5 separate regions of the Homo sapiens genome follow, and regions 2, 3, 4 and 5 are each linked to region 1. The links are contacts of gene promoters, found by promoter capture Hi-C in human tissues and cell types (Jung and others, 2019). All regions are on one chromosome and are shown on one strand. The core of a region is centred on a gene start or on the middle of the fragment in contact, and the rest is flanking DNA. Distances in the headings are between cores, read along the strand shown.

The links. The method cuts DNA at HindIII sites, captures the fragments that hold promoters and counts their contacts. A contact is called where the count stands out against the background at its distance.
Region 2: a fragment that was not itself captured here is called in contact with the fragment with the promoter of SNAI2 in region 1 in 1 of the 25 tissues and cell types used here (mesenchymal stem cells).
Region 3: a contact is called between a fragment that was not itself captured here and the fragment with the promoter of SNAI2 in region 1, in 2 of the 25 tissues and cell types used here (dorsolateral prefrontal cortex and mesenchymal stem cells).
Region 4: a contact is called between a fragment that was not itself captured here and the fragment with the promoter of SNAI2 in region 1, in 1 of the 25 tissues and cell types used here (mesenchymal stem cells).
Region 5: a contact is called between a fragment that was not itself captured here and the fragment with the promoter of SNAI2 in region 1, in 1 of the 25 tissues and cell types used here (bladder).

The regions. Positions count from the first base shown.
Region 1 is chr8:48,919,830-48,925,087 of GRCh38, forward strand. SNAI2 (snail family transcriptional repressor 2) reads right to left here and starts at 1,600. Exons shown (of 3, transcript NM_003068.5): 1 at 1,358-1,600; 2 at 67-612. The coding sequence starts at 1,436. It overlaps LOC107986942 (a long non-coding RNA gene), which reads left to right and starts at 1,728. Exons shown (of 4, transcript XR_001745895.3): 1 at 1,728-2,372; 2 at 2,861-2,935. RefSeq lists an enhancer at 1,711-1,790. The HindIII fragment of the contact is 3,481 bases long and covers 1-3,368 here.
Region 2 is chr8:48,045,708-48,051,543 of GRCh38, forward strand. UBE2V2 (ubiquitin conjugating enzyme E2 V2) reads left to right here. Exons shown (of 4, transcript NM_003350.3): 3 at 4,146-4,271. Among named protein-coding and RNA genes, the nearest start is that of UBE2V2, 40 kb to the left of the region's middle. RefSeq lists a silencer at 2,389-2,589. The HindIII fragment of the contact is 3,610 bases long and covers 1,447-5,056 here.
Region 3 is chr8:48,229,959-48,235,611 of GRCh38, forward strand. No RefSeq gene overlaps it. Among named protein-coding and RNA genes, the nearest start is that of UBE2V2, 220 kb to the left of the region's middle. The HindIII fragment of the contact is 4,066 bases long and covers 48-4,113 here.
Region 4 is chr8:47,984,796-47,989,832 of GRCh38, forward strand. UBE2V2-AS1 (UBE2V2 antisense RNA 1) reads right to left here. Exons shown (of 4, transcript XR_928850.3): 4 at 4,233-4,863. Among named protein-coding and RNA genes, the nearest start is that of UBE2V2-AS1, 12 kb to the right of the region's middle. The HindIII fragment of the contact is 3,339 bases long and covers 1,133-4,471 here.
Region 5 is chr8:48,078,090-48,083,526 of GRCh38, forward strand. No RefSeq gene overlaps it. Among named protein-coding and RNA genes, the nearest start is that of UBE2V2, 72 kb to the left of the region's middle. The HindIII fragment of the contact is 9,830 bases long and covers 1-5,437 here.

The DNA of each region.
Region 1 (5,258 bases), core at 350-2,849:
CCAACAGCCAGCCCAGGGCTTCATTGTATCTCAGAGTAACATTCCTGCCTATGGTTTTTCTCTTACCCGTGTGAGTTCTAATGTGTCCTTGAAGCAACCAGGGTCTGGAAAACGCCTTGCCGCAGATCTTGCAAACACAAGGTAATGTGTGGGTCCGAATATGCATCTTCAGGGCGCCCAGGCTCACATATTCCTTGTCACAGTATTTACAGCTGAAAGATTTTCTAGACTGGGCATCGCAGTGCAGCTGCTTATGTTTGGCCAGCCCAGAAAAAGTTGAATAGGTCTTATTGCATAAATTGCACTGAAACTTTTCAGCTTCAATGGCATGGGGGTCTGAAAGCTTGGACTGTAGTCTTTCCTCTTCATCACTAATGGGGCTTTCTGAGCCACTGTGGTCCTTGGAGGAGGTGTCAGATGGAGGAGGGGGACTCACTCGCCCCAAAGATGAGGAGTATCCGGAAAGAGGAGAGAGGCCATTGGGTAGCTGGGCGTGGAATGGAGCAGCGGTAGTCCACACAGTGATGGGGCTGTATGCTCCTGAGCTGAGGATCTCTGGTTGTGGTATGACAGGCATGGAGTAACTCTCATAGAGATACGGGGAAATAATCACTGGGAAAGAAAAGGGAGGGAGAGAAGATTAAGGCAAAAATAATTAAAAATAAATCCACACGCAAGTATACACACACTGGAAAGATATTTAGCAACACACACGTGATTTTCTTAGGAAGAAGATAGACCCATTTAGGAGGGCATACACACTGGTAAAATGTTTCATTTCCACCCTGGCACCTACGGAGTTACTGTACTTAATGCACACATAGGCTGACAGCTGCACGGAGCTATAGGTGCTCTGAAGTCAGACAGTGCAGCCAAGCCAGTGCCTTCGCCGTCCCCATTGAGGAAGGAGAGCCTCAACATTATTTTTAAACATACAGAAAAGTTGTTTTCCATGTTACGTATGGGCTATTTAGGTGTATTACGACCGTGAGTACAAAGATATGCCTGCATCAAGCCGCCTTCTAAAGGAAAGGAGACTTAGTGCATGAAAAACGCAGTAATTCAATCCTTATGTTGCTCATCTTTCACATACTCATTATGCATGTATACACAGGCTTTAGCAAACGAAGCTGCGAGATTTGAATGAAATGTTCCTTGTTAGTCAAGAATTTTAAAAGTTTTGAATTAAAACGAACCCTAAATGATCAAAAGAATGTAAGCTCCCTTTCAGGACACTGTTAAAAAGGAAAACAGTTGAATCTTTGGCTCTTTTGTAATGGTATTTGAAGGGTAATACGTAGATTCATATTTGCAAAGCTCTAGATACGTAGTTCTAGATATATTTTTCTCTTTTTACCTGTATGTGTGTCCAGTTCGCTGTAGTTTGGCTTTTTGGAGGCGTTGAAATGCTTCTTGACCAGGAAGGAGCGCGGCATCTTGCCAGCGGGTCTGGCGGGCGCCCGGCGCGGATAACGGTCCGGCGGGAGGACACGGCGGTCCCTACAGCATCGCGGCGGGCCAGGCTCGGGCAGGGGCCGTGCTCAGGTGCGGCAGACGGACGGGCCGGCGCCTCTGAAGTCACCCGGCTCCTTTACGAACTGAGCCCGTTTTGGCTGGGAGGGTTTTTTTTTCCTCTCTTTTGCAAGAAAGATCCAATCACAGCTGAGAGGTTCAGATTTCAGCTCCTCCCTCTGGGACAGCTGTGAACAGAGGAAGAATCTGTTGTCAGACTAAATTATTCTGGTTCAAAATGGGCTGTTTTTTGAGATTTCAGTGGAGAGGAAAAAAAGTGTTTAAGTATTTTCAAGAGAGGTAACCTCGCTCGGTGAGCCCCGCCCGCGATCCACGCTCTCTGGGAGCTAGGAGGGGCGCAGGAGCCGGGGTCTCTGCCCTGCCCGCCTGGCTTCCAGATGTGGTGCAGCGCCAGCGCGCGGGGACACAGTGTCCGCCAGGAGAAGGAAGGGCCGCCCTGCACCACACCAGGCCAGCCTCTGGTGTTAATGAGAGCCTATATTTGGAAGTGGCATCTGGAGAGGTTTGCCTTGCACAAAGACCAAATAATTACCTCTTGGCTTTTGAAAAAGGAAGGGGGAAGCGGGAAGACAAAGGCGCCTGTGAGCGCGGAGGACGCTCTCCTGGGACTCTGGCCTGGAGCGGGACTGCAGCCTTGCGTGCGGCGAGGGCGCTGCGCTACTCAGGGCTTCCGCGAAGCCAGGGGCAGCGCGGCCGCGTGCAAATTAAGTACTCATGTCACCGTGTTAGCTATGGTGGCTTGAAAGAAATGCTTTGTAGCCCTCTAAAGGCAGGCTGATCGGAAGAACTGGAAGATTGCAAAGATAAAAAGGAACTCTGGCAGAGAAGGGGGGCAAGAGGTAACTGTCATTTGGAACCACCGGACATTCTCTCACACTTTTGACAAGAGATCTTATCTTTTCATGTATTACAGTGCATCTTTTTTTTTATGGGAAAAAGGGTTGTATGGGTCTTTAGAGACAATTATTTTTATTTCTAATATTCCCCTGCTTTTATGTGGTGCTATTTTCATCAGTATAAAGCCATTAAAATCCATCTCAGTATCTACCAGTTTCCTGTATAATGCTAAAAAAGAAATTGAAGGATATTATTATGAATATAGATTGATTAAAGTTTTAAGAACCCAGTCTAGTAACTGCAAAAACACCTTTATTTTGTGTATGGTCTTCAATCTAAAAATACTTTCAGGTGGTTTATTTTAAATATAAAATTTCAAGCATATTTTAAAGCATCTCTGTCCATTGCAGACTTTTATCCCTATCTTTTGCTAAAAGAATAAGGAAAGAACAAATTCACATGAAGATCACCCTACTCTTGTTTCTAACAGGTGCTGGAGGAAAAAAGTGAAAAAGAAAATAACAGTGGTGATGTCAAGACTTGTCAGAGAAAAGTGCATTGTCAGGTTGCATAACTTCTTAATCTTGGAATGAGAAAACAAGAGTGTATGTGTGTTTGGAGGGTGAGGTGGGGCACTCACAGATTTCCTAAGCTAATTTCAATGATTATTCTTATTTCTTCCAACAGTCACTAATTTAAATGTCAAACAGAGAAAATAATTCAAAGGAATCCTTATGCTAATGGAACTGTACTTGCAGGAGAGAGGAAAATATGAATACATATTCGATTTCTCCACACACAAACTGGAACCTGGAGTAAAAGCCAGAGGCAGTTTTCTAAGCTTGCTACTCTATGTGAGGGTTTGTTCGGATGTAGGCACCTGGGTTTATGAGAGCAGGAGTCCTCCTTGCTTTTCACTCCATTTCCCACAAAACACACATTTTTGTTACAGATATAGCACAGTTGAGAAAACACATATCGCCATGGCTATTATTTCCTTGTTTCACTCTACACAGTCTATTCACAACAAAGAAGAGTGTTAGACAATGTTTTGGTATTTATTTGCTGGTAGTTATAACACAAGATCATCTACTAAAATGTGTATTCAAAAATCCATTTACAACGTTTAATAATAATTCACTATGCATGAAAAAAGCTTACATTTGGATCACAGAGGCATAATCCAGCCCAGCCCCATCAGCAGGTATCCGAGGGTGCACTGCACAGATCGGCGTCAGGACGTGCGGCCACACCTACTGTGAGGAGAGGATGGGGCTCGGGTCTGTGCATGGGGCATGTCATTACACAGATCCGCGTGCTAGCGAGTAACACGTATGCCCGTGTGAGGTCTGGGCCGCTGTCAGAGCAGGGCGAGTCTGCGCGCTGATGGCGTGAGTCAGACGAAACAGGTGCTCTGCTCAGACACAGCGGAGGGCATGTGGCGCCAGCACCATGTGGTAAAAACGCAAGCCGGGAAGTCAAGGCCACACCCAAAGGCCAGCTGCTGGGACTCTGCTAAGACAAGACAGAGGTTTCCTTTCCTTCTGCCAGCCAGAGGGCTCATCTGGAGGGGTTGGCTTTGGTCGTTGACAAAAAGACTTTCTCTTGCCCAGGGACAGAAATCTTTGTGGAGGCAACTGCACCAGATTTTAAAGCTTTCATTCTGGAATCCAATAGAAGTCAAATCAATGACTGAGGGGGAAAAATGGAACAAGCAAACCCAAGTGGGTTTGCTAATCCAAGGATTCAGTCCTAGGTTGGTGAGAAATTGGTGCTCCATAATTAGGCTGATTGGGTTTATCAGCCTAATTTATTTCATAACAATTAAATAAATGGTGCTTGTTCTTAGAGCCACGTGGACACAGCCCAGCCAGGGTGAAGCCAGTGGGCACGGGTAAGACAAAAGGAAGGCACAAGCTCTGCTCTTAGGCTCTTGAGAGTTTAATGTAGTGTAGGGAGAAAAAAGGAACTCTGGAGGCCATAGTGAGGCTTAAAAAATAATCCTTCCTAGGCTTGAGCCACACTGGCGAGACTCCATGGCATGGGTTGTGCGGGTTGCCTGGCACCCCAGACACCCGTATAATCTAATTCCTTAATTGCCATGATGTGATTTGATGTGACGTACCTGACAGGCTCTCATTTTCTCTGTTTTCTGAAGAAGCTGACCAAGATAACTTGTGGAAAACTTTGTAAGTTAAAGATCTGGGCCAGCCTTCCCCACAGGCTCCCTGGATGGGTGGGGTTTCTCCCGGAGCCAGTTTTCTTCATGAAAGACACATTCTTGCCCTGCCAAGTAGGGGAATAAATTAGATCCGTGAGGTTTGGGAACGCACCTTGGGTTTCTTTACTTTGCGTGGAGATTTGTACACATTTAGGTATTTAGGTGTGTAAAAAGCAGTGCAAGTATTGACTACCATGTTTAGGAAATGGAGTAGTAAATCTAGCACCAGAAGAAACCAGAGTGTGGCATAGGCTGAAAAATCCCATTTTATGCTGTGTCCTATCTCCTAAAATGAAAGGCATCTCTTTCTAAGTTTGGTGTGTGGTATGATCACTCTGGAGGGGGTTCATATCTCCTCAATTCATATGCATATTCATATCCCTTGAAAAATATGAAGTGATGAAATATCATGAGTTTGGCTGTGCTATCTGGAGAATATTATAATACATTAGTAATTTTAAAAATCTATTTACATAGAAACAAAGCATTTATTAAATATAACTTTGAAGTTTGAATGACAAGGGTGTGATGCCATTTTGTGGGTTTTTAACATACACATATCTGTATGTAAAAGGATTTAGGAAGAAATATTCCTAAATTTCCTTTTGGAAAATTGTCAGAGCGGGCATGGGATTCTGCTTATATATTCTGAGCTCCACAATAAGGA
Region 2 (5,836 bases), core at 2,002-4,501, 870 kb before region 1:
CAAAGGCACAGGCTTCTTCTGGAACTGGCCTCTGCTCACCACCTGATGATCTTCTCTGCATCACCTTCTCAGTTCTCTTGAAGGCAGGTCACAGCAGGCATATTCAGTTGCCTTTTCATAAAACAGGCAGGAGTTGGTATCTTACCACAGTTGTTTTCTCCTTAGAAGGTGCAATGTTGAGAACAATTTTGTCCCCAGGGTAGAGTATCTACATCTAGCCAGGAGAGGAGGAAGACTTTTTTGTTTGTTTGTTTTTGAGACAGAGTTTGGCTCTTGTTGCCCAGGCTAAAGTGCAATGGTGTAATCTCAGATCACCGCAACCTCCGCCTCCCAGGTTCAAGCGGTTTTCCTGCCTCAGCCTCCCTAGTAGCTGGGATTACAGGCATGTGCCACCACTCCCAGCTAATTTTGTATTTTTATTTTTTTTTTTGAGACGGAGTCTTGCTCAGTCGCTCAGGCTGGAGTGCAGTGGCGCCATCTCGGCTCACTGCAAGCTCTGCCTCCCGCGTTCATACCATTCTCCTGCCTTAGCCTCCCGAGTAGTGGGACTACAGGGGCCTGTCACCACGCCCTGCTGATTTTTTGTATTTTTAGTAGAGATGGGGTTTCACCATGTTAGCCGGGATGGTCTCGATCTCCTGACCTTGTGATCCACCCGCCTCGGCCTCCCAAAGTGCTGGGATTACAGGCGTGAGCCACCGCGTCTGGCCTAATTTTGTATTTTTAGTGGGGACAGGGTTTCTCCATGTTGCTCAGGCTGGTCTCAGACTCCCGACCTCAGATGATCCGCCCACCTCGGCCTTCGCAAAGTGCTAGGATTACAGGCGTGAGCCGCCGTGCCCGGTTGAGAGGAGGAAGACTTTTAACATGTTACATGGTTCGTTGTTTTTTATTTTTATTTTATTTTATTTTGAGATAGTCTCACTCTGTCAACCAGGCTGGAGTGTAGTGGCCCGATCACACCTCACAGCCTGGACCCCCTGGGCTCAAACAATCCTCCCACCTTAGCCTTCTGAGTAGCTGGGACTATAGGGGTACACCACCATACCTGGCTAATTTGTGTGTGTGTGTGTGTAGAGATGGGGGTCTCACTGTGTTGCCCAGACGGGTCTCAAACTCCTGGGCTCAAATGGCCCACCTGCCGTGGCCTCCCAAAGTGCTAGGATTATAGGCGTGAACCACTGTGCCTGGCCAGTTGTTTTTTATTTTTTGTACTTTATTGACTAAGGTCCCTCTTTTTTTTTTTTTTTGAGATGGAGCTTTGCTCTTGTTGCCCAGGCTGGAGTTCAGTGACACTATCTCGGGCTCACCGCAACCTCTGCCTCCCAGGTTCAAGTGATTCTCCTGCCTCAGGCTCCTGAGTAGCTGGGATTACAGGCATGCGACACCATGCCCGGCTAATTTTGTATTTTTAGTAGAGATGGGGTTTCTCCATGTTGGTCAAGCTGGTCTCGAACTCCCAACCTCAGGTGATCCACTCCCTTCGGCCTCCCAAAGTGTTAGGATTACAGGTGTGAGCCACCATGTCCAGCCAGATCCCTCATTTTTTATGTTGTTCTAGTATTTATTTGGATTTATATGATTAGCAGTTTTGTTTTTCTATGTTTTTGTGTTCAGTTTTCTGAAGCAATATTTGTTGTCACTAGAGTTTAGTACTTTTTCAAGTTTTCTCATATTTAATGAAGGTACTGTCCCCATCTTTAAAATAGAAACAGTGTGAGAATTAAGTGAAATAATGATTAGATAATAGGAGAATACCTGAGTACTTGACTTAGTAAATATTAGTTTGTTTTTCTCCTCTTTTTTTTGCTCTTGCTTTTTATTAGATAACAGAAAAACTTGACTGTTAATTAAAATTTTTTTTTTTTTTGAGACAGTCTTGCTTTGCCACCCAGGCTGGAGTGCAGTGGCGTGATCTCAGCTCACTGCAGTTGCCACCTCCCGAGTTCAGGTGATTCTCCTGCCTCAGCCTCCCGACTAGCTGGGATTACAGGCGTGTGCTACCAATTTTTGTATTTTTAATAGAGACGGGGTTTCACCATGTTGGCCAGGCTGGTCTCGAACTCCTGACCTCAGGCAGTCTGCCCGCCTTTGGCCTCCCAAAGGGCTGGGATTACAGGCATGAGCCACCACACCCAGCCTGTTAATTTAAAATTTAGAGGGGATAAAATCAAAGGTGTCAGAAGTTAGGGTGATATTTACTGTAAGAATTGGATTAGATTAATAGGCTAGCTTTGGGATTAAATTTTTTTTTGTTTACATAAAATCTTTCAGAAAAGAGCTTTGGGTTTTTTTTTTTTTTTTTTTAAACAAAAGGAATTGAGGTAGAATTTACATGTAGTGAAATGCACAGATGTGCCATGAGTTTGACAAATGTAGCTTGTTACCCCTACTGAGATACAGAACATTCCTGTCATTCCAGAAAGCTCCCTTTGCGCTTTCCCACACCTGAGAGATTTGCGTGTTGTAGAGCTTTGGTAAGTAGGGTCATGTAGTGTGTACACTTACGGTTCTTTACTCAGCATGAAGTCTGAGCAATTCAGTTGTGTTATCTCATGTAGTAGGAGTGTGTTTCTTTTTATTGTTGAATAGTATTTTACTGTATGGATATACCACAATGTGTTTATCACTTCTTTTTATGGACATTTGGATTTAATCTACTTTCTTGCTTTTACAAATAAAGCTGCTATGGGCATTCTTGTAGAAGTCTTTTTGTGAACATGTGTTTGTTTCCATTTCGCTTGGGTAAATGCCTAGGAATAGAATTGCTGTATCATAGGGGAGTCTGATATGCATCCAGATTGGAGAATCACAGCCAAGATAATCATGAGATCTATCTGATTTTAGTCATTTTTATATATTGAAAGTGCTGGGGATATTATTAATATTTGCTTGCTATTAATCTCAGATGAGTTTTATATAGCTCTTTTTTTCTTAAAGTATTGAAATATTTAATAACATACATATAACATTGTTGCATAGGTTTTACATTAGAGTAGTTTAATACTGCAAATCTGACCTCCATTTGGATAGCTCTTGTTTATGGGGATGGGATCAGTTTGAGTAGGTGAGATCTGTAGATGGTTGGTTAGCTTCCTCCCTCTCTGGTCTTATACAGCAGCCAGCAGATATTAAATTTTTCACTTTCATTTATTTATGTATATATTTTTATGTTATTTTAATTATAATTTAGAAAATTTAAAGTTTCAATAATTATAATTCTCTTTAAAACAATTTTTTTTTCTTTTTAATCTCTTGAGTCAAGGTGAGGATTCATTTATTTTTTACTTTGCTGTTTTAATGGTACACTAATAAGTTAACAGAGTGAACAAAAGCCATAGCAGAAAGAAGAGTTAATTTATAGGCATGAAAATAAGCCCTGGATAATCTAGAAGCTTTAAGTTTGATACCTATTTGAAAATGATGTGTAAACATAAAGTTTGCCATTGTATCTCTGAATTCAGATAATGGGATTTAATGAACCTCAAAATTAATGAAGTGGCAACGTAAGTATAACTAACAGGGGACATAAAATAATTATGTTTTATTGCTGCAAAATAGTATAATATGGGGTTTTCTCTTTTGCTAGAAGTTATTGATTGCCATATTTAGTAGGATAATCATATAATTTGTTATCCAACAAGACCCTTTTGAGAATGAAAGGAGGCACTGTTAATAGTCAATTCTGGGACAATAGGAATAAGCAGAACTGTTCTGTAAAACAGAAACCTTCATATATGTTTAACACAAGTCTCAAGTAGCCCCTCCCTCTACAATGTAAACTTTTTAGCAAAATCTAAATTTAAGTGGTTTGCTTTTTCGTTTTTCCTTCTTCGTTCTAATTTGTTACAGGCATCATTTTTATCACAAAAGCAACTTGGGATCATATTGATAATACTTTGTAGAATTAATTTTGTAAAATCTCATGGAATTAATTTTGTAAAATCTCAATTTTTAAGTATGCTTATTGCATTTTTTCTCACCATATAGGTGAAATAAATTTGAATGTAGAAAAATAAATTCTTAATCATAAACACTGTCTTACGTACATTCATATTGTACTTTCCCTTTTTTTTTTTTAGCACTTAGACATTAATATTTTAGGTATTGTTATTTTGATTATCTTTTTGTTTTTTGCCTTCCAGACAAATTATGAAAACAGAATATATAGCCTGAAAGTAGAATGTGGACCTAAATACCCAGAAGCTCCTCCGTCAGTTAGATTTGTAACAAAAATTAATATGAACGGAATAAATAATTCCAGTGGGATGGTAAGTTAATATAGTCATTTTGGTTTTATATAACATAATGTATAGAGTTATATATTATACGTACACACACCATAATATATGTAAGATATTAATATGTAGTTAGGAGAAAGTTTTTAAAAGAGGACCTTTGTTAAGCCAAAAGTCTAAAGAAGGTTGCATTATGTTGTTTTTCTTTTATTAATATAAATTAGGCCATCCTTAAAAACCTTAATGTACTTGCCTAGAATAGATGCATGTGGTGGTTAAAACTTTTTTTTTCTTTTCTTTTTTTTTTGAAACAGAGTCTCACTCTGTCACCCAGGCTGGAGTACAATTGTGCGATCTTGGCTCACTGCAACCTCTGCCTCCCGGCTTCAAGTGATTCTCCTGCCTCAACCTCCCGAGTAGCTGGGATTACAGGCACCTGCCATCATGCCCAGTTAATTTTTGTATTTTTGTAGAGACGGGGTTTCACAATGGCCAGGCTGGTCTCGAACTCCTGACCTTAGTTGATCCGCCCGGCTCGGCCTCCCAAAGTGCTGGGATTACAGGTATGAGCCACTGTGCCTGGCCAAAAGTTTTCTTAGGGTTTTAATTGCCTTAATAGTCATATTTCAGTTGATCTTTATTTGGTAAAAAGATGACCATTATTGGGCGGGGCATGGTGGCTCACGCTTGTAGAGATTGTGCCACTGCACTCCAGCCTGGGTGAAAGAGCGAAACTCCGTCTCAAAAAAAAAAAAAAAAAGAGATGATCATTATTTCTCTTTGAATGTTACTTTTCTGAGGGTTAAGGTACATTTGGTGGGATTAAAAGGATGACTGTTCATGAAAAGGATGAATATTCATGAAGGGTTTTTTTCTTTAAAGAGCAAATATGTCTGTGTTGAAACAGTCATGGCTGAGCATCATTGTCTATTTATTTTTGGGTTTCACTCTGTCCCCCAGGCTGTAGTGCAGTGGTACTCCCCCACTTCCTGTGGCCTCAAGTGATTCTCCCACTTCAGCCTCCCAAGTATGTGAGACTACAAGGCACATGCCACCAAGCCCATCTAATTTTTGTATTTTTTGGTAGAGATGGGGTTTCGTCATGTTGGCCAGGCTGGACTCAACTCCTGACCTCAAGTGATCTGCCCACCTTGGCCTCCCAAAGTGCTGGGATTACAGGCGTGAGCCACTGTGTCCAGCCCATTGTCTCTTTAAACAAAATGACATGCCCTGCTTGACCCACACAAGTTAGTTAGTAGAAACAGCTGAATTTCCAGTATGAGTAGATTGTTAAGTTCATGATAAGTCTTTGAAGCCTAGGCTCTCTTGGTGCCATGTTGAGAGCACGCCACATACAAAATACATTTTAGGAAGCAAAATAACATATCATCATCATAAAATGAGTATCATCCATCTTAGGAAATAGGGCCTCAGTATCCTTGATTTCTCATCCCATCCCTGCGTTCCCTCTCTCTACCAGTGTATTTTGTACTACAAATGTATCACATATGTACACAAATTCATCCTCCTTTCTTCTCTCCTTCTCTCTTTCCTTCTCATCTGTTTACCATCTGTTAAAAATCACGAGTTTATACTAA
Region 3 (5,653 bases), core at 831-3,330, 690 kb before region 1:
TAAGTACTTAAATCAAATACTTTTTTATTTCATGTGACTTTAATCTTTAAGAAATAAAGAATAGTCTTAAGGATTATTGGTAAAATGCAAGTATCATCAAAATGCAAATAGGTGGTCTAAATTATACAACTTAGATACTAGGTTTGCTACATGTTCTAAGGTTGTATACTGCCTGCTTCAGGAAAGGTAAGGCCTGGAACACATGGAGCTAGATGCTGGAAAGAGTCAAACTTTATCTGCACTCTGTCTGGGTCCTAGGCTCCACACCTGGTACATAATTAAAATTGCTTACTAGGCCGGGTGTGGTGGCTTGGCTGTAATCCCAGCACTTTGGGAGGCCAAGGTGGGAGGATCACTTGAGGTCAGGAGTTCGAGACCAGCCTGGCCAACATGGTGAAATTCCATCTCTACTAAAAATACAAAAATCAGCTGGCTGTAGTGGCAGGTGCCTATAATCCCAGCTACTCGGGAGGCTGAGGCAGGAGAATCACTTGAACCTGAAAGGCAGAGGTTGCAGTGAGCTGAGATTGCACCACTGCACTCCAGACTGGGTGACAGAGCAAGACTCCATCTCAAAAAAAAAAAAAAAAAAAAAAAGATTAGATGGTATTGTCTATAAGGTTTCTTTTAAGCAGTTTGAAGTTAACATTACTAAATTAATGAAATTAATGCAAGGGTAAAATTTGGCTTTGAACAGGATTTTCATGTAATAGTAAAGGCTAATGAAAGGTTTTTGCCTTTTGAGTCATCATTTTGGCAAAACGAATAATTTATGGCAGTTTGGAATTCGATTTCATCATCCCAAAATCAAACTCCAAGTTTCAAAATTGTTTTTCCTGATTCCTGGCTTTCTGGATGGCTCAGAGGGCCTCTGAAACATCTAGAGAAGAGGTGAACAGGATTATTTGACATGTTTAGTTACATGGGATTGCTAAAATGATTGCTAAAAATCTTCTTTAGGTTATATTTTGGTGAATAATACTGATATATTTTCTAAAATTGTATGGGGTTTGTAAAATTCTAATGTCTGAATATATGCTATCAATCATAATTAAGGGTAAAGTTATTGTAAGCCGCAGAGATAAATGAACTCCTTTGTCTGTCATGTTTTTAACTGTATCTATCCTGGAAATTTTGTTTACAGATAATTGTTGTCTTGCTTGGTTCCTTCTCAAAAGATGGGTTATAATCAAGCTATATTAAGGACTTTACTAGGTATTCTCAACTGCGAGTTTTTAATAGCTTTGAAGATTGTAACATTGAAATAGATAAAGAATGTATGGGACTCATGAAGAACTGAAATGTTCATGTATGTCAAGCAAAACAAGAGTTAACTAAATGGACTGCACTCAGAAAGTTAAAGCAACCTTTTTGACTTTTGCTTGAAATATTGCTGATCCTTGTTTCATTTTTGAGTTGAGAAAACTTATTTTGAACTATTTATGGCCTTTAATAACTGAGTAAGGCATACTCCTGTGAACAAAATTTGGAGCATGTTTGTTTCTCTCTGCCTGGTTCCTCTAGAATTTTGAAACTATATGTAAATATGCTTAACTTATGGCAATATAGTTGTTTGCAGCAATGTAATAGGAATCCATTTTTTTTCCCCAAGAGGACACAATTGTAAAAACTGGTTATTTCATCAAGGCTTTGACTGGAAGTGTATGCTTCCCTTTAAGGAGTCAATCTCAACTTGCAGAGCCAATAAAAGCCCTATAGAGAGAACTGGCCTCATACCTTGCCTACACAGTCCCTGCACAGGGTTTCTAACCTGTGGTCAGTAAAGAATGTCACTTTCTTTTGTTGTTGTTGTTGTTGTTTTTGAGACGGAGTCTTGCTCTGTCACCAGGCTGGAGTGCAGTGGCATGATCTCAGCTCATTGCAACCTCCACCTCCTGGGTTCAAGCAATTCTCCTGCCTCAGCCTCCCAAGTGGCTGGGATTACAGGTGTGCACCACGACACCCAGCTAATTTTTTTTGTATATTTAGTAGAGACAGGGTTTCACCATGTTGGGCAGGATGGTCTTGATCTCTTGACCTCGTGGTCCTCCCACTTTGGCCTCCCAAAGTGCTGGGATTACAGGCGTGAGCCACAATGCCCGGCCAAGAATGTCACTTTCTAACAGGTCCAGGAGCTCCCAATTTATCTTGGGACCTTAAGAGAAAAGGATCACCCAACTCACAGGTATTTGAGGATACAAACCCATGGCTGAGCTCAGCTTTAAAAGGTCTTATTTGAGATTCCTTGTGGAAAGGAGCTCCATCAAAGCCAATCAACAAGGCCTATGTTAAAATAAACATTCTTGCTGCACTTTATGCAAATAATCAGGCCAATTATAAGGCTAAAGTTTATTCTACAAATAACATGGTCCTATCATAACTTGTTTTAACCAAAAGGTAGGACTGGAGAGAGAAATTATGTTCCAAAGCTTATTATACATTTGTCATGAAATCCTAGTCTTATTAATTGTTTTTAAGATTTTGGCCTACATTTTAGACTAACCCTGCTTATTCCTGTGAATCAAGTGGTGATCTTCTGCAGCTTGAAAGAAACAAAAAGGAATGGGTAATGTAAAAATCTGAATCAATATGCTACTTCTGGGCAATTATCCTGCAAATTCTGCCAGGTAATAAAAGTGAGTAGGATTCACATAACCTAGAGGTTTCTTGGGGAAAATAAAGCCAAGGAACTTCATAGAACCACAAAGGGAAATTCTGTATGTTGGCAGATAAATTTTAGATGTAAATAATCTACTACATCACCCTTAAAGGAATTGCTGTACTCATTCTACTATTTGCAGTAGAGCTATACATGGTAGCATCTTCTAACTGAAATATTGGACGGAGAGTTTCCATTGCTGTAGTATTGAGAGTTGAAGCCAGCTGGACTTCCTAGGTCGAGTGGGGACTTGGAGAACATTTCTGTCTAGCTAAAGGATTGTAAATGCCCCAATCAGCACTCTGTAAAAACACACCAATCAGCCCTCTGTGTCCAGCTAAAGGATTGTAAACACACCAATCAGCACTCTGTAAAATGGGCCAATCAGCACTCTGTAAAATGGACCACTCAGCAGGATGTGGGTGGGGACAAATAAAGGAAAAAATGCTGGCCACCCCAGCCAGTGGCGGCAACCTGCTTGGGTCCCCTTCCATGCTGTGGAAGCTTTGTTCTTTTTCTCTTCACAATAAATCTTGCTGCTGCTCACTCTTTGGGTTTGCAACACCTTTAAGAGCTGTAACACTCACCACAAAGGTCCGTGGCTTCATTCTTGAAATCAGCAAGACCACGAACCCATGAGAATGAAGAAACTCCGGACACATCTGAAGGAAAAAACTCTGGACATACCATCTTTAAGAGCTGTAACACTCACCGCGAAGGTCTGCAGCTTCATTCTTGAAGTCAGCGAGACCAAGAACCCACCTGAAAGAACCAACTCCAGACACATCTTGGTGACCCAGATGGGACACATCTTGGTGACCATGAAGGGACAATTGCCAAGTGGTGAGTACCATTGGACCCCTTTTGCTTGCTATTTTGTCCTATTTTCCTTTTGGTATTTAGTCCTTAGAATTCGGGGGCTAAATACCGGGCACTTGTCACCAGTTAAAAGCAACTAGCATGGCCACTGGACTAAAGATACGGGTGTCAGGCTTTCTGGGAAAGGGCTTTCTAACAACCCCCAACTCTTTGGAGTTGGGAGGGCTGGTTTGCCTGGAACCAGCTTCTGCTTTTCCTGCATTTCTGGGCTGAGCTGAGGGTCGACAGAGAGGAAAGCCATTCAGCTCTGGGGTCCCAACAAAAAGTTGGTTGACCCTGTAGCCATGAGCAGAACTCTCCAAGTCACGTCGCCCAAGCGAGATTCGCTTATCTATCCTATCTATCCTGACCCTTGCCTTCTGGGTCCTAATGCCTGTGAGACAAACTTCCTCTCACCTCTCTTCTCTGAGGCTAGTCCCACTTCTAAAAACCACTCCTTGTCTCTGGTGCTTTTCTAGTTTCTCCTATAAGAATGATTTCTGGTATAAACTTCAGGACTCTGTTCCCTTCTTTAGGCACCTGGGCTCACCAATCAGAAAGACATAATTTTTGCCCAAAGCCCCATTGGGTGGGGAGACCAACTGTCTTCTTAGGATCCCTCCTCAGACAAGCAGGCCTAACAAAAGCTATTCCTGAAGCTAGGCTATGGGGAGCCTCAGAAATTATATCCTTCCTATTCATGTAAGTGAAGACAAAAGGCGTCACTCTTCCAACCCTGGAAATCCCTTCCCTCCCTCAGGGTATGGCCCTCCACTTCACTTTTGGGGCATAACATCTTTATAGGATGGGCTAAGTTCCCAATACTAACAGGAGAATGCTTAGGACTCTAACAGGTTTTTGATAATGTTTTGGTAAGAGAAACTAAATCTGATTTTTTTTGGTCCTCTTTGTGGTCTAGGAGGACAGGCAAGGGTGCAGGTTTTCAAGAATGTGTTGGTAAGGGCCACTAAATCTGACCTTCCTCAGTCCTCTGTGGTCTAAGAGGAAAACTAGGGTTTCTGCTGCTGCATCAGTGAGCGCAATTATTGTGATCAGCAGGCTCCAGGGACCATTGCAGGTTCTTGGGCAAGAGGGGTTTCTGCTGCTGCATCGGTGAGTGCAACTATTCTGATCAGCAGGGTCCAGGGATTGTTGTGGGTTCTTGGGCAAGCAGGGCTTCTGCTGCTGCATTGGTGAGCACAACTATTCCAATCAGCAGGGTCCAGGGACCATTGTAGGTTATTGGGGGGGGGGAGGGGGGCGGACAAACAAACCAAAACTGGGGGCAGTTTTTTCTTTCAGATGGGAAACACTGAGGCATCAACAGGCTCACCCTTGAAATGCATCCTAAGCCATTGGGACCAATTTGATCCACAAACCCTGAAAAAGAAGCAGCTCATTTTTTTCTGCACTGTGGCCTGGCCCCAATATTCTCTCTGATGGGGAAAAATGGCCACCTGTGGGAAGTACAAATTACAGTACTATCCTGCAGCTTGACCTTTTCTGTAAGAGGGAAGGCAAATGGAGTGAAATACCTTATGTCCAAGCTTTCTTTTCATTGAAGGAGTATCCATAACTATGCAAAGCTTGCAATTTACATCCCACAAGAGGACTTCTTAGCTTACCCTCATATCCTAGCCTCCCTATAGTTCCCCTTCCTATTAATGATAAGCCTCCTCTAATCTTCCCCACCCAGAAGGAAACAAGCAAAGAAATCTCCAAGGGACCACAAAACCCCCCTGGCTATCTGTTATGTCCCCTTCAAGCTGCAGGGGAGGGGAATTTGGCCCAACCTGGGTACATGTCCCCTTCTCCCACTCTGATTTAAAGCAGATCAAGGCAGACCTGGGGAAGTTTTCAGATGATCCTGATAAGTACATAGATGTCCTGCAGGGTGTAGGGCAAACCTCCGATCTCACTTGGAGACATGTCATGCTATTGTTAGATCAAACCCTAGCCTTTAGTGAAAAGAATGTGGCTTTAGCTGCAGCCTGAGAGTTTGGAGATGCCTGGTATCTTAGTCAAGTAAATGATAGAATGACAGCTGAAGAAAGGGACAAATTCCCTAGCAGTCAGCAAGTCGTCCCTGGTATGGATCCCCACTGGGACCTCGACTCAGATCATGGGGACTGGAAT
Region 4 (5,037 bases), core at 1,552-4,051, 930 kb before region 1:
CGCTTGAATCCGGAGGCAGAGGTTGCAGTGAGCCAAGATTGTGCCACTGCACTGTAGCCTGAGCGATAGAGTGAGACTCTGTCAAAAAAAAAAAAAAAAGGAAAGAAAGAAAGAAAGAGAAAGAGAGGGAAAGGAAAGGAAAAAGAAAAGGAAAGGAAGAGAGGGAGGGAGCAGGAAGGAGGAGGAGGGAAGGAAGGACGGAAGGAAAAAATTATAAGAGGTTTTTCTTCACCTTTTAAGTAATCTGCCAAAGAAAGATTTTGTGTTTTATCAAAATAATTTCCTGTACTTGATCTTGTGTTTTATCAGGTCTTTCATTACTTAAGAAAACTGAGTCCTCTCTATTAAAAGAGTGGATGTTTTCCCTACAACTCTGTAACTTTCTGTCTTTGTCTTTAAAATCTTTTGACTGTATGACTGAGTCTCATTCTGTTGCCCAGGCTGGAGTTCAGTGGCGCGATCTCAGCTCACTGAAACCTTCGCCTCCTGGGTTCAAGTGATTGTTCTGCCTCAGCCTCCTGAGTAGCTGGGATTACAGGCTCGTGCCCCCATGCCCGGCTAATTTTTGTATTTTTCGTAGAGACAGGGTTTTCACCATGTTGGTCAGGCTGGTCTTGAACTCCTGACTTCAGGGGATCCTCCCACCTCGGCCTCCCAAAGTGCGGAGATTACAGGTGTGAGCCACCGCACCCAGTCTCTTTGTGTAACTAAATATTTCACAGTGACCTGTGGTACTATTTGAGTATTTTAAACCTTTTGACATTTTTTACAACTTCCCAAAATCAACTTCTAAATTAAGTTCTTTTGACCTTGAAATTACTTTGGAATGTTCCAAGGGCCCCTACATTATCTCAAAAGAATTTTTTTCCCTCCTTAGGGAAGATATTAAAATAATTAAGCTTATTTGATATGTTAAATTTGCATAGGAAGTATTATCAAATGAAAAGTGATGTTTTACCTTCTTTAAGTCATACATTTTTGGGTATAGTTAGTACTAGTGTTCAAGAAATTACATAAAGTTCCTAGAAATCTGATAGTCCTGATACCATAGTATTAGTCTTAATTCTAGTTATTATCTTAAAATATTGTATGTCTTGAAATAACAAAATTTCCTTATCAGTATCATTATAATATGAATACCATTTTCTTTTCTCCTAAGCTATCTATTGCTTACAGCAATTTGGTAAGTTATAATTTTGTACAAAGAATGTAAACATTTATCTTTTCTTCCTACTTTATCCCTGCAGAATTCAGAAACTATTAGTATTTTTATTTTCATGGCAATATAATTATTTGCATAAGTTCAGTAAGAATCTGCTCTCTTTGTACCAAGACACAATTGGAAACATTAGTCATGTTACCAAAGCTTTGACTGAAATGTCATATTTTCAGATATAATCACACAACTTTTAGGAACTAAGATTGACTCCATGGAGCCAATACGGCCCCTTGAAGGAAAAAGCTGGCTTTGTATCTTGTACACAAGATTCCCTCACATGTTTCCCTTGCGATGTGTAAGGGACGGTCACTTCGCACAGGCCCAGGAACCTCAGGACATTTTGGGGATCGCAAGAAGAGAGAAAGTCACTGAAACCTATAGGATAGCAGGACCTTGGCTAGGCTTCCTAGGATGGAGAGGCATTTAAAAAAAATAATTAATTAATTTTTTATTAATTATTTGTGCTGCTATAATAAAATATCTGAGACTGGGTAGTTTATAAAGAACAGAATTTATTCCTCCCAGTTCTGGAGGCTGGGAAGTCCAAGAGCAAAGTGCCAATAGGTGTGATGTCTGGTAAGGGCTCAGTCTCTGCTTCCCAGATGGCTACCGGAATGCTGCATCCTCTGGAGGGCAGGAACACATGTGTCCTCACATGGTGTAAGAGGTGGAAAGGGAGCTAGCTAGTTCCCCTGAGCCATTTTATAAGGGCTATCATCCATTCATTACAGCAGAACCCTAATGACCTCATCACCTCTCAAACGTCCCACTTTTTTTTTTTTTTTTTTTTTTGAGACGGAGTCTCCCTCTGTCACCCAGGCTGGAGTGCAGTGGCGTGATCTTGGCTCACTGTAACCTCCACCTCCCGGGTTCAAGCGATTCTCCTGCCTCAGCCTCCAGAGTAGCTGGGATTACAGGCACACGCCACCACACCAGCTAATTTTTGTATTTTTAGTAGAGATGGGGCTTCACCATGTTGGCCAGTCTGGTTCTTGAACTCCTGACCTCAGGTGATCCACCTGCTTCAGCCTCCCAAAGTGCTGGGACTACAGGTGTGAGCCACCGTGTCTGGCCCAGAGTTTTATTATTACTCCAATCGGTCTCCCCGAGAATTCGAGAATTGGAGTTTTTAAGAATAATTTGCTGCCTGGTGCGGTGGCTCATGCCTGTAATCCTAGCACTTTGGGAGGCCGAGGCGGGCGGATTGCCTGAGTTCAGGAGTTTGAGAACAGCCTGCGCAACACGTGAAACCACGTCTCTACTAAAATACAAAAAATTAGCTGGGCATGGCAGCGTGCGCCTGTAGTCCCAGCTACTCGGGAGGCTGAGGCAGGAGAATTGCTTGAACCCGGGGGGTAGAGGTTGTAGTGAGCCGACATCATGCCACTGCACTCCACCGTGGGCGACAGAGTAAAACTCTGTCTCCAAAAAAAAAAAAAAAAAATTTGCTGAGTAGGGGGCCAGTGAGTTGGGAGTTCTGATTGGTCGGGTCAGAGATGGGAGTCAAAGCTGTCCTCTTGTCACTGCTAAGTCAGTTCCTGGGTGGGGGCCACAAGACCAGATGAGCCAGTTTATCGATCTGATTGGTGCCAGCTGATGAATCAAGTGCAGTGTCTGCAAAATATCTCAAGCACTGATCTTAGGTTTTGCAATAGTGATGTTATCCCTAGGAGCAATTTGGAGAGGTTTAGAATCTTGCAGCCTCCAGCAGTATGGCTCCTAAACTGTAATTTCTAATCCTGTGGCTAATTTGTTAGTCCTGCAAAGGCAGTCTAGTCTCCAGGAAGGCTTGTTTTGGGAAAGGGTTGTTGTCTTTGTTTCAAAGCTAAACTATAAACTAAGTTCCTCCCAAAGTTAGTTCAACCTAGGCCCAGGAATGAACAATGACAGCCTGGGGGTTAGAAGCAAGATGGATCTCTTTCATTGTAATATTTCTCAGTTATGATTTTTGCAAAGGCAGTTTCAGTATTTTGTTTTAAATTTCAGATTCTACTTGATGATTGCTGGTATATGGGAAAGCAATTAAAATCAGATGACTCCAAGGATTTTGGCCTCAGCAAGAATGGATTTGTTGTTTACTAAGAAAGAAAAGGTTTCTGGCCGGGCACAGCGGCTCACACCTGTAATTCCAGGACTTTAGGAGGCTGAGGCAGGCGGATCACGAGGTCAGGAGTTTGAGATCAGCCTGACCAACATAGTGAAACCCCATCTCTACTAAAAATACAAAAAATTAGCTGGGTGTGGTGGCGGGACCTGTAATACCAATTACTTGGGAGGCTGAGGCAGGAGAATCGCTTGAACCCGAGAGGCGGAGGTTGCAGGGAGCTGAGATCGCACCACTGCACTCAGCCGGGGCGACGGTGCAAGACTCTGTCTCAAAAAAAAAAAAAAAAAGAAAAAGAAAAAGAAAAAGAAAAGGCTTCCAGTAGAACTCTGTTGGGGAAGAATATAGGAGTTGAATTAAATTTGAGACATCTAATACACAGCCTTTTAGATGCTAACCTGAGTAGGCAGTTAGATATTAGAGCATAGAATTTATGGGAGGGTTTCGGGCTTCAGATAAGAAATTGGGAGTGGAAATATACGGATGCTGCCCAGGCGCAGTGGCTCACGCCTGTAATCCCTGCACTTTGGGAGGCCGAAGCGGGCAGATCACCTGAGTTCTGGGGTTCGAGACCAGCCTGGCCAACATGGTGAAAACCCATCTGTACTAAAAATACAAAAATTAGCGGGGCATAGTGGTGCATGCCTGTAATCCCAGCTACTTGGGAGGCTGAGGCGGGAGAATCGCTTGAACCTGGGAGGCAGAGGCTGCAGTGAGCCGAGATCGTGCCACTGCACTCCAGCTTGGGCGACGAGCGAAACTCCATCTCAAACCAAACAAACAATAAAAAAAAAAAAATGGATGCCACTTAAAGTGATGAGCCTAATTGTGTGATCACCAAGTGAATGTAGAGAGAGATAAAAAGATATCTGTAAGATCAGCCGAGAGAAAGGAAAAATAGACCCAAAGTCAGGTGAGCAAGTTTTTATTAACCTGTCGGCTGCCCCCTTAATAGTCAAGGGAAGCAGCACCAAGCTTACAGAATGAGGGGTTTATATTGGGGAGGGAAGTTTGAGGGAGTTTTTTGGTATGGTTGCATCCCAGGGTTGTTTGCTGGTTAATTTTGCCACATATCACCTTGTGACATTTATTACAGGAGGGTGTAGTAAAGTTTGTTTGTGCTTCCCACAACCTCCCCCTGTGCGGTCTGGATGGTTTGTTATTGGGGTTTGCTTATCGCAGCAAGGTCTGATAAGTGAAGTCTGTTGGCTTCACCGTAGCGACTACATAAGGGCTTAGAAACGTAAAGAGGCTTGGGGAAGGGTGGGCGGCATGGAGAAGAATTGCAGAGCATTGGGGGAGGGGTGGGCAGCACAAAGAAGCTTTCTCGGGGCAGTTGTCCCTCTCATGCCAGACTTTTAATAGGTAATGGAAGAGGGGTGCTGTTATCATCTGGCTGCTTCTTACTGGGAGAGGGCGACAGTTGTCGGGGAAGGCTGGACGGTAGGGACTGCTGTTCTTGGAGCCTCTGGTATTCCTGGAGCAGCATCATATTTTGTATTGTCCCGTGGGTGAAAGCGCTGATAGGGTCCTGTAAAAACTGGGTGAGAAGGCATAGGAGACAAGGGCTGAATGCTAGAAAAAGATGAATGGTTATGGCTGGGCCTAGGACGGGCATTAGCCATGGAAACCAGCTACTAAAGGACTGGGAGGGCCACGCTGGCCATCGCAGGATGTTTTCTTTAATTTTTTGTGCTCGGTCCTTTATATTTTT
Region 5 (5,437 bases), core at 124-2,623, 840 kb before region 1:
CTCCTGCCTCAGCCTCCTGAGTAGCTGGGGCTACGGGCATGTGCCACCACGCCTGGCTAATTTTTGTATTTTTAGTAGAGACGGGGTTTTGCTGTATTGTCCAGTCTGGTCTCAAACTCCTGACCTCAGGTGATCCACCCGCCATGGCCTCCCAAAGTGCTGGGATTACAGGCATGAGCCACCATGCCTGGCCCATTTTTTGTTGACTTGTAAGAGTTTTTCTATATGTATTCTGGATACTTATCAAATATATAGCTTATCTGGATCTTATCAAATATATAGCTTGTGAATATTTTTCCCATTCTTTGGATTGTCTCTTTACTTTCTTAATATTATCCTTTGATGCAAAAAAATGTTTTTAATTCTGATGCAGCCCAATTTTTCTATTTTTTTTTTTTTGGTGACTTGTATTTTTGGGATCTTATCTAAGAAACTGTTGCCTAGTCCAAGGTCACTGTAGAGGGTTCTCCAGAGAAACAGAACCAACAGATGAATTGATAGATAGAGATTTATTATGAGGACCTGGCTCACGTGATTATGGAGGTAGAGAAGTATCACCATGTGCTGTCTGTAAGCTGGAGATGCAGGAAAGTCTGAGTTCAAAGACCTGAGAACTGGGAGAGCTGACGACGTAAGTCTTAGTCCAAGGGCAGGTGAAGACTGATGTCCCAGCTGAAACATCAGGTAGAAGGGACAAGTTCTCCCATCCTCCACTTTTTGTTCTGTTCAGGCCCAGTTTTATTTTTCAAGACTGTTTTGGCTATTCTGGGTTCCTTGCATTTTTGTATAAATTTTAGGATCAGCTTGTCCATTTATGCCAAAAAAAAAAAAAAGGGCTGTTGAAGTTTTGGTAGAGATTGCAATGAAGCTGTAGATTGCTTTGGGGAGTATTGCCATCTTAATATTACATCTTCCAACACATGAACATGAGATGACTTTTCATTTACTTATATCTTCTTTAGTTTCTTTTAACAATATTTTGTGGTTTTCAGCATATAAGTTTGCACTTCCATTTTAGTTTATCCCTACATATGTTACTCTTTTTGATGCTATCATACCTGGAACTGTTCTCCTAATTTGAATTTTGGATTATTGCTACAACTGGTTTTTGTATATTGGTCTTGTATCCTGCAATTTTGCTGAAGTAGTTTATTAACTCTAATAGCTTTTCTGCATAAACTATTTAGGCTTTTCTATATCTAAGATCCTATTATTTGCAAATAGTTTTTCTCCTTTTCCAATCTAAATACTTTTGATTTCTTTTTTTGTCTAATCGCTCTTCCATTATCTTTTTCCCCTAACTTTACAATTGGTTCATTGGGATATTAAATGCATTTTTGAGTTATGATGGGTTGATCAGCACATAACACCATCGAAAATCCAGGAGTAGCTATATAAGGCAAAAAAGGTGTAACTAATGAAAGGATACTGAATGACTTGAAAGAAACCAGTAGATGTTTACAATTGACGGGGAACCATGGGAGAGAGACTCTGGTACATAACAACAGTGAAATCGTACTGAGAACTCTGAAGGATTTGACATGGAAACATAGGAAACATACAAGAAGTAAGAAAGGGAAGGAGGGAAGAAAGTAAAAGAAGGAAAGGGGGAGGAGTAAGGAAGGGAGGAAGGGGAAGACGCTTGGTGGTACTAAAAGCAGAAACTTAATCAGTTTCTGAAATTTAAACATTTGAAATAGGAGATAAAAAGGGAAATTTTGGCATATTTCAACTATAGTGTGGACTTGAATGTCGAATAGAAGAAATATCTCAAAACAGAGCAAAAACGCAAAGATCATGACTAGGAATATGAGTCCTGAAGGAGAGTTCTTGGAGAACTAAATGTGAAACATAAATATCAATTATCAATATCAATATCAATAAAAACAAAAACCACATGACAATCTCAATCGACACGAAAAGTGCATTTGAAAAAATACAGCCCACTTCATAATACGAATGCTTAAAAAACTGTAAACAGAGGGGAGCTTCCTTAACCTGATAAAGAACAGCTACACACACACAAAAAAAAACCTACAAAAGACCAATGTTTAATGGCAAAATACTGAATGTCCCCTTCACGTCATGAATAAGAAAGACAAAGATGTCCACTTTTGCTACTTCTATTCAAGATTGTACCAGAGTTTCTAGCCAGGGAAATTAGGCAATAAAAGGCATCTAGATTAGAAAGGAAGAAGAAAAACAATCTCTATTCCCTGCAGACATTATCCTACATATAGAATATCTTAAGGAAACCATTAAAACAACTATTAGAACTAAGAAATGCGTCCAGCAAGGTTTCAGGATACAAGATCAATATACAAATATGAATTAAATTTCCACACAATAACAATGAACAGTCTGAAAATGAAATTTAACAATTCCATTTACAATAGCATCAAAAAGAATAAAATACTTGCAATAAGCCTGACCAAAAAATACAAAACGTATACCTTGAAAACTACAAAATATTGTTGAAATTATAGATGGCATAAATAAATGGAAAGACAAAAAACGTTCGTGGATGGAAAGACTTCATATTGCTGGGATGGTAATAATTCCCAAAGTGTTCTACACATTCTGATAGTGACAGGAGGCAGCCAAATGCCCAGGCAGATAGGGGCGAGTCCCCGGTGAAACCCCACCCCCAAGCTGAAGGCAGTTTAAAGCTTGAAAGCCAAGCTACAAGTTAAATCTTCGGACTGGATTGAGAACCTGTCTTCCCATTTGTCATGCTTTCTCCTCTGATTGATCCCCACCCTTCATCTATTTTACGTATACCTAATCTTTCCTAATTGATTTTCTACACTGTCATGTCCACCTTTGAGTGGTGTCTTTGCTTTAACCTTTTTCGCATACTCACAAACCAATCAGCAAACATTTCCCATTCTGAATTCATAAAAAGCCCAGGGCCCAGCCACGCTGAGAGAAGAAAACCACCCGACTGCGGAGGTGGGGGACCCCCTTACCCACCCTTCCGCATCGCCTCTCCACTGAGAGCTATTCCACTGCTCGATAAAATTCTCCGCCTATCCTTACCCTTCAACTGTCAGTGTATCCTCATTCTTCTTGGACACAGGACAAAAACTCAGGAGCCACCAAGCTGTAACACAGGTGGGCTGGGGCACCACCAGTGGCAGTCCCGGGGCTGAGCAAGGTCCGGGGTTGGGGGGGTGTCGCCGGCCAGAGGTCCCGACTGGCAAAGTAACTGAGATAATTCCTGTGTCAATTCCACATACTTCCCATCAAAAGCCTAGTTGGCGAGTTCGCAGAAATTGGTAAGCTGATCCTAAAATTCATACAGAAAATGCCAAGGACCCAGAATAACTAAAACAATCTTCAAAGAAATAAACAGAATTAGAAGACTCTTCCCTATGTTAAAGCATCCTGCAAGATAACAATAATCATGACCATATGGTACTGGGATACAGACATAGAGATATAGATGAAGGGAATAAACAGAGCCCAGAAGTAAGCCATTACATTTGCAGTCCATTGATTTTCAGAGTGTGCTGAGAAAACTAATTGTGGGTAGGAACCCTTTTTTTTTTTTTTTTTGAGATGCAGTCTCACTCTCTTGCCCAGGATGGAGTGCAGTGGTGTGATCTCAGCTCACTACAACCTCTGCCTCCCGAGTTCAAGTGATTCTCCTGCCTCAGCCTCCCGAGTAGCTGGGATTACAGGTGGGCACCACCATGCCTGGCTGATTTTTGTATTTTTGGTAGAGACGGGGTTTGACCATGTTGGCCAGGCTGATCTCAAACTCCTGACCTCTCAGGTGATCCACCCGCCTTGGCCTCCCAAAATGCTGGGATTACAGGCATGAGCCACCGTGGCTGGCCAGGAATCCTCTTCTTATCAAATGGTGCTGGCACAATAGGATACCCTCATACAAAAGAATAATGTTGGATACCTTTCTCAGACCACACACAAAAATTAACTCCAAGGTGACTATGGATCTAAATTTAAGAGCTAAAAAGATAAAATCTGGCCGGGTGCAGTGGCTCACGCCTGTAACCCCAGCACTTTGAGAGACTGAGGCAGGCGGATTACCTGAGGTCAGGAGTTCCAGACCAGGCCTGGCCAACATGGTGAAATCCTGTCTCTATTAAAAAAAAATACAAACATTAGCCGGGCGTGGTGGCACGTGCCTGTAATCTCATCTACTCAGAAGGCTGAGGCAGGAGAACTGCTTAAACCCTGGAGGCAGAGGCTGCAGTGAGCCGAGATTGTGCCATTGCACTCCAGCCTGGGCAACAGAGCGAAACTCTGTCTCAAAAGAAAAATAAAAAAATAAAGATAAAATCTTAAAAAATAAAAAATAATAAAACAAAAAAAGATAAAATCTTAGAAGAAAATATCACTGCAGGTGAGATGAAGGCTTTTAAGATGTGGCATCAAAACCACAAGCGACAAAAGAAAATACAATAATTGTACTTCATAAAAAGCAAAACCTTTTGTGATTCAAATGTGAAAAGACAACCACAAAATGGGATAAAATATTTGCAATCATATACCTGATAGGGAACTTGCATTTAGATTACAAAAAGAATTCTCACTACTCAATAAAAAGAAGAAAAATAATCCAATTTTTAAATAGGCAAAGGATTGCAGTAGATATTTCTCCAAAGAAGATACACAAATAGACAAGAAACACATGAAATGATTCTCTGCATCCTCAGTCCTTAGGGAAATGCAAGTCAAAACAACAATGGTGACACTTCACACTCACCAGAATGGCCAGAACGGAAAAGCAGATAATGACAAATGCTGATGAGGATGCAAAGAAGCTGAAACATTCCTGCATTGCTGGTGGGACTGTCAAATGCTACAGCCATGTTGGAAAATAATCTGGGAGTTCCTCAACATGTTTTTGTCACATAAGTCTTCATATGACCCAGGAGTTCCACTCCTGGGTATAAAGATGTCCACACCAAATAGTGTACAGCAGTGTTCATAGCAGCATTATTCACAAAAGCAAAAAAGTAGAAACAACCTAATGCCCATCAACTCATTAGCATCCCCAGGAGCATATTCATGCAATCGAGTATCACTTGGCCATAAAATGAATGAAACTGTGGGTAATTCTACAATGTGGATGAACCTTGAAAACATTATGCTAAGTAAAAAGACAGTTGCACAGGCTCACATATTGTGTTATTCTGTTCATAGGAAATACCCAGAATAGGCAAATCTATAGAGATAGGGGAGAGCTCTCTATGGAGCCGTTACCTAGGGCAGAGGTTGTTGTTGGGGGTGGGGCTTGGAGACAGTGTGAGGAATGACTAATGTTTATAGGGTTCCTTGGGGGAGGGGTGATATAATGTTATAAAACTGATTAAAATCGGCTGTGCGCAATTATGAATATACTAAAAGCCATTCAATCCATCACCTTAAATGGGTGAATCTTATCTAGGGCATCCATTTTGAGACTGGG